2 separate regions of the Homo sapiens genome follow, and region 2 is linked to region 1. The links are contacts of gene promoters, found by promoter capture Hi-C in blood cells and fetal thymus (Javierre and others, 2016). All regions are on one chromosome and are shown on one strand. The core of a region is centred on a gene start or on the middle of the fragment in contact, and the rest is flanking DNA. Distances in the headings are between cores, read along the strand shown. Region 1 holds the start of VASP (vasodilator stimulated phosphoprotein). Region 2 overlaps SNRPD2 (small nuclear ribonucleoprotein D2 polypeptide).

Region 1 (3,345 bases), core at 461-2,960:
ATCAGAAGGAACAAACGCGGGAGGGGGATTCTCTAGTGGTCATAAAAAGGAATGCCACGCCACTCCGATGTCAAAGGGCAGGGGTTCAGGAAATGCGGGGGATGTGGGCACCACGGGGTTAATCCCCAACCGTCCCCAGGGGCCTCCCTGCTCAGGCTGGGGGCTTTGGGGCAGGAAGTCCCAGAGAGAGTAGAGGAAGGGAGATAGTATTGTCAGGCTCTGGCCCCATGGGAGAGATTATGGGGGGCCAGGGGAGGGAAGAATAGGGGGGATGGTTGGGCCCCCCTGCCCACACTGGCCCCGCCCTCAGGTGAGCCCAGGAGTTCGGGGGAGGCCCCGGCCAGACCAAATCCCTGGGTCCCTTGGGCCGCCACCCCCAGGATTAAATTCCTGGGAAGATAGCTGGAATTATCTGGGAAGCCTGGGTCCCTAGGGAAGAGGGCTATGACCTTGAAGCTTTCCAGCTCCCCCTCCTCCAACCCCAAGGCTCCGGGTGGATAGGGGGACGGTGAGCAAAGGGGGAGGGGCCGTGGTGGGGAAGGCAGCCGGCCTACAGCGCTTGGTGCCCGCCCCCCACACCAGCTGTCTCGACAGGTGAGTCAGGAAGACAAAGGCCCCCTTCCCCCAGCTGCCGCGCCCCCTCCCTCTCCAGGGCCGCGCAGGTGGGGGAGCCGGGCCGCCCTTATGGCCGGAGGCGGGGAGCCGCCCTCTGCTCCGAGCGCCCGCTCGGTCCTAGGCACGGCCAGTTAAGCAGATTGTGTGCGGAGCGACGGGGAAGGGGGGGGTCCCACCAGACTCTGGAGGCTGCGTCCAGGTCCCTGGATCGGTTCACACCAGCCTCCTCCACAGGAAGACCTAAGTGACCCCCAAAATCCAGGGGATTAAGAAGTACCCCCGAAGTTATGGAGCGCGGTCCCACTTGGGGAGACTTTTTCCAGCACCAAGTAAACGGGGGACCTGCACACCCAGGGTCTGAGTCTCAGTCTCTCTTCCAAGTCCCAGGGTATCCCAAATCGGTCCCCCACAATCCTTCCCGGACCTCGAGCTGAAGTCTGGGGGGAGGGGGAGGAGAGTCTGAGCCCTGCCTCAATCCTGGCATCCCTGCGGGGAGTCGCTGCCAACTTTGAGGTCCTCTAAAAAAAGTCTTAACAATTCGGGAGTCCTCCGAGCGCCCCCAAATCTTGAGGGCTCCCAGGAGAACCTCACCGCCACCACCCCCCGAGCTTGGGGAGTCAGTCGTGGAGAAGTGATCGACGGTTCTGGGGCGCGTCCAAGGGGATTCAGCTCAAATCCGAGGCTCCCAAGGATCTGTCCCCAAATTCCAGCCCGGAGCTAGCTGGGGGGGAGGGGGACAAAGGCGGGGCGCGGAGCCCGCCCGGGCGGGGACGGGTCGGGGGGCAGGTCCGGCTCACCTCATGGCTGCTCGGCGGGCGGGCGGCTCGCCCACGGGCTGGCTGCTCCCGGGGCGCCCCTGGCTGGAGGTTCAGGGGTTCGGGGCTGGCTCCGGGCTCGGCTCAGGCTCCCCCAGGGTCCCGCCCCATAGAGTCCGGCTTCCTGGGGAGAATGTGGACCGGGCCGGGGCGGGTCTCCGGGCGCCGCTTCCCTCAGGCGGTCTGATGAGAGGTTCCTGCAGCAGAAAGGGGATGCAGCGTCCGCTCCCCAGCGCGCACCCCTTGCCGGTGGCGGCTACAGTGTTACTCTTACTACTGTACTTCTCTTCGTTACATTTCGTTCCAAAATTCCACTCCCCGCACCCACAATGCCCCGCGCCTTAAAGGGGCCGCGTGCGCCTCCAGGCGAGGGGGTGGAGGGCGCTTAAAAGGGCAACTCTGCACCCTCGGCTTCCGCGATCTCGCTCCTCTCCCCAATGTTGTAGCCCAGGGGTGCACCCTGGGAATCACCCCCACCTGAGGGGCAAGTTGGTGAAGGGGAAGGGGACCTCCCTTGCTTCCTAGTTCGCTCCCACTGTGGGAATTCTGAGGAGGGTCTCGGAAGGGGCGCGATTTCTTTCCCCATCGACTTCTCCATCTCGTACTCCGCTCAATTTTGGGGGTCGAGGAGGACCCTCAAGTTAAGCAAGTGGTCTCAGATTTTCTCCCTGAAATCCCATCTTCGGAACACCGCCCCTCCCCAGCGTTTCTCTTCTGTCAATTTCGGAGAGGTTACTAAGGGGGCGAGACCCCCACCCGCACGGGAGTGGAAGTCGGGGGAGTAGGGCCCAACCCCTCTCACCCCACCCCGCCCGCCCCGGGAAGGTGAGGAGGAAGTGGGCCAAGGGGGCGCGGTCGGTCGCTGACTCACAGCCGCAGGGTCGGGGGTGGGGTGGGGTGGAGGTGGGGACTGGCGAGGAGTGCGGGAGTGGGGGGCCCGGCATTCGCCCGGGGTGGGCAGGAGGCGCCGGCTTCTTTGGTGTGTAAAGCCTCCGGCCCACGCACGCCCCGCTCTGACTCAGTTTCGCCTGCGGAGGACAGCAGGATCATCCCAGCCCTCAGGAGGGCCCGGAGGTGAGGAGACCCTCCCGGGAGCCCCCGCCCCCACACGCCGGCTCCGGGCTGAGCCCAGACACCCTCTGAGGCTTCCGCAGCGTGTCTTGCCGGCCCCGCCCCGAGTGACGTCACTGATTTGGTCGCGCCCCTTGGGTAGAGCGCCACCTGGCCCGGGTGAGGCGCCCGAGCCCTGGGAAATCAGTTAGTTCCACATTTACACACGGGTAAACTGAGGCCTGGAGACAGGGAATGAATCTGGCCTATGGCCCTCTTGCCTGAGCCCCCAGAACCCGGAAAGCCACCAAGGTCTGAGTGTAAAACCAACAATTCTCAGGGCCAGCTGACTATGTGAGAGAATCCACTTTTCCAGCGTATGTCCAAGCCGAGTCCCATGTCCGGATGTTGATGTTGTCCTGACCTCCTTTACCTGGGGAGCACGTCATCCTTCCAGGCCAAGCTTTGACATTAATTCCCCTCCCCTTCTCCACCCCACTCTGGGAGACCTTGAACCCTGTTCCTCGGAGGTTATCATTGTTTCTCAGTGTGTTTCCTCAGGCTGAGTTGTCTGGGAGAATGGGTAGACTAAATTTCTTTTTTTCTTTTTTTTTTTTTGAGATGTAGTCTCTCGCTGTCACCCAGGCTGGAGGGCGCTGGCTCGATCCCCGCTTACTGCAACCTCCCCCTCCTGGGTTCAAGCAATTCTCCTGCCTCACCCTCCTAAAGTAGCTGGGATTACAGGCACGGGCCACCAAGCCCAACTAATTTTTGTATTTTTAGTAGAGATGGGATTTCACCATGTTGGCCAGGCTGGTCTCAAACTTATGACCTCAGGTGATCTGCCTGCCTCAGTCTCCCAAAG
Region 2 (3,279 bases), core at 158-2,657, 180 kb before region 1:
TGACAGAGGCTTAGGCCATGGTAAGAAACGGCCATTTCCTACAGATTTCATGTAGGATGTGAGGGAAAAAGAGGAATCAAGTTGACAAAAGAGTTTTTGCCCAGAGAACTAGAAGGATGGAGTTACCATCAAAGCAGATGGGGAACGCTGTAGATAGGGTAGGCTTGGGTGGTTGGGTGATCTGGATCCCGACCTGAGACATGCAGAGTTGAAAATGTCTGGCTGGGCACGGTGGCTCACGCCTATAATCTCAGCACTTTGGGAGGTCGAGGCGGGTGGATCACAAGGTCAAGAAATCAAGACCATCCTGGCCAACATGGTGAAACCCCCTGTTTACTAAAATACAAAAATTAGCTGGGCGTGGAGGTGGTGCATGCCTGTAGTCCCAGCTCCTCAGGAGGCTGAGGCAGGAGAATCGCTTGAACCCAGGAGGCAGAGGTTGCAGTGAGCCGAGATCACATCACTGCGCTCCAGCCTGGGCAACAGATCAAGACTCCGTCTCAAAAAAAAAAAAAATGTCTGTTAGGCATCTAGCTGATGATACTCAGAAGGCTGAACAGGAGGACAGATGTGGTGGGACAAGGTTGGGGAGACACTGAAGCCAAGGCCCTGATCACCCATCCTCACAGCTCCAGCCTCTCAACTCCAGCCTCTCTCACTTATTGGTTCCATGTTTGTCCATGCAGGAGCCTCCTCAACAAGCCCAAGAGTGAGATGACCCCAGAGGAGCTGCAGAAGCGAGAGGAGGAGGAATTTAACACCGGTCCACTCTCTGTGCTCACACAGTCAGTCAAGAACAATACCCAAGTGCTCATCAACTGCCGCAACAATAAGAAACTCCTGGGCCGCGTGAAGGCCTTCGATAGGTGAGTGCTGGGTCCTGGGAGGTGTTCTCCGCAGGCCTGGAGAGGCCACTCCAGCTCCAGTCTGAAGAGCTCAAAGACAGCTGTCTCAGAAGCCTGGGGTGTATGGCCAGGCGTGGTGGCTCATGCCTGTAATCCCAGCACTTTGGGAAGGCAAGGCGGGTAGATCACCTGAGGTCAGGAGTTCAAGACCAGCTTAGCTAAAATGGCGAAACCCCATCTCTACTAAAAATATAAAAGCCAGGCGTGGTGGTGCACGCCTGTATTCACAGCTACTCAGGTGGCCGAGGCACAAGAATAGCCTGAACCCAGGAGGCGGAGGTTGTGGTGAGCTGAAATCGCACCACTGCATTGCAGCCTGGGCAACAGAGTGAGATTCTGTCTCAAAAAAGAAAATGATAATTTTCAATGGCCCTGTGAGGAAGGTAACGTGATTATCTTCCCTCTTAAAAAGGAGCAAACTGGCACAGAGAGGTGCAGTCCTTTGCCTCAGCCTCAACCTAAGGACTGGCAGAGTTGCTTTGGCAGCTTGGTCATCCCGGCCTAGCACCTGCACCCTTCCCCAAGCCATGCTGCTGGAGGGGGCGAGCAGCAGGCAGTAGGGGGCACTGTCAGAGGCACGCCCCTCACGCCCAGTGCCTCCCCTCCCTGTTCCCCACCAGGCACTGCAACATGGTGCTGGAGAACGTGAAGGAGATGTGGACTGAGGTACCCAAGAGTGGCAAGGGCAAGAAGAAGTCCAAGCCAGTCAACAAAGACCGCTACATCTCCAAGATGTTCCTGCGCGGGGACTCAGTCATCGTGGTCCTGCGGAACCCGCTCATCGCCGGCAAGTAGGGGCCGCCTGTCTGTTGACAGAACTCACTCCTCTGTCCTATGAAGACCGCTGCCATTGGTGTTGAGAATAATAAAGCTCTGTGTTTTTTTCTAGTGGTATCTGTTTCCAGAGCCTTGGGAGTGGGGTGGATTCAGGAGGGCTTGGGGGAGGCAGCTGGTATCGGACTGAATGGTGGGAGCAGGACCCCTGAGCAAGTGGAGAGGCCCTGGCTCTGCCCCATCGAGGCCTCACTTTCTCCATCTGCAAAGCAAACAGTTTGCATGGAAATGAGCGCCCAGTTGTGGCTCTGGAGAACATTTTAGCTCTCCTGCTTTAATCTTCCTGAGCTTCTCCTTGTCACTCTGTTGCTCTCTTCTCTACCTCTTATAATGAATTGGCCTCGCTTGACCAAAGTATCTTTTGGGGCCAGGCATGGTGGCTCACACCTGTAATCCCAGTACTTTGGGAGGTGGAGGCGGGCAGATCACCTGAGGTCAGGAATTCGAGACCAGCCTGGCCAACATGGTAAAACGCTGTCTCTACTAAAAATACAAAAACTGGCCGGGCGTGGTGTCTCACACCTGTAATCCCAACACTTTGGGAGGCCAAGGCGGGTGGATCACCTGAGGTCAGGAGTTTGAGATCAGCCTGGCCAACATGGTGAAACCCCGTCTCTACTAAAAATACAAAAATTAACAGGGCATGGTGGCAGGCACCTGTAATCCCAGCTACTCAGGAGGCTGGGGCAGGAGAATTGCTTGAACCCCGGAGATGGAGGTTGCAGTGAGCTGAGATGGCCCCACTGTACTGTAGCCTGGGTGACAGAGTGAGACTCCATCTCAAAAATTATATATGTGTATCTTTCAGCCTTTCTTTATGTTTGTTCCTTCAGCAAACATCCCCCAAATGCCCCCTGTGTGTCCAGCCCTGTGTTGCAGTGCAGGGGCACCAGGTACCCAGGAGCCTCTGGTCTGCCCTGAAAGACAGGAGGATTAGACAGGTGATGAACGCAGTCAGTGCCACCAGCACAGCGGCTGAGGTGAGAGCATTGCTTAAGCCCAGAAGTTTAGGACTAGCCTGGGAGAATGGTTGTGAGTTTTATAGACAGTGTGATACTATCTCTAAACTAAATAGATAAGAAACAGAAAAAAGGGCCGGGTGCAGTGGCTCACACCTGTAATCCCAGCACTTTGGGAGGCCAGGCGGGTGGATCACCTGAGCTCAGGAGTTTGAGACCAGCCTGGCCAACGTGGTGAAACCCTGTCTCTACTAAAAATACAAAATTAGCCAGGCATGGTGGTGCACGCCTGCGGTCCCAGCTACCTGGGAGGCTGAAGCAGGAGAATAGCTTGAACCAAGAGACGGATGTTGCACTGAGCTGAGATCGCGCCACTGCACTCCAGCCTGGGCAACAGATTCTAAGACTACCTCTCAAAAAAAAGGAAAGAAAGGAAGAAAGAAAAGAAAAGAAAGCAGTCAGTAGCTAAATATTACTGCTAGTGATCCTGGCTAACACTTGCTGAGCTGTTTAGGTGCCAGGCCAGGCTCAGCGCTTTTCAAACATCCTCCCAACAGCTCTGGCGCGGGCCTGTTAATTTA

The links. Contacts are between HindIII fragments. The CHiCAGO score rates a contact against its expected background, and 5 or more counts as called.
Region 2: a fragment that was not itself captured here is called in contact with the fragment with the promoter of VASP in region 1 in 12 of 17 cell types (naive CD4 T cells, total CD8 T cells, naive CD8 T cells and 9 more); the score reaches 15.7 in naive CD4 T cells.

The regions. Positions count from the first base shown.
Region 1 is chr19:45,505,844-45,509,188 of GRCh38, reverse strand. VASP (vasodilator stimulated phosphoprotein) reads right to left here and starts at 1,710. Exons shown (of 13, transcript NM_003370.4): 1 at 1,413-1,710. The coding sequence starts at 1,417. It overlaps LOC107985314 (a long non-coding RNA gene), which reads left to right and starts at 1,815. Exons shown (of 2, transcript XR_007067269.1): 1 at 1,815-2,504. RefSeq lists silencers at 586-785, 1,380-1,559, 2,240-2,369, 2,400-2,649 and enhancers at 1,710-1,979, 1,261-2,045. The HindIII fragment of the contact is 2,487 bases long and covers 459-2,945 here.
Region 2 is chr19:45,685,974-45,689,252 of GRCh38, reverse strand. It overlaps SNRPD2 (small nuclear ribonucleoprotein D2 polypeptide), which reads left to right. Exons shown (of 3, transcript NM_001384647.1): 2 at 687-866; 3 at 1,526-1,793. The coding sequence ends at 1,700. Among named protein-coding and RNA genes, the nearest start is that of SNRPD2, 4.3 kb to the left of the region's middle. The HindIII fragment of the contact is 8,456 bases long and covers 1-3,279 here.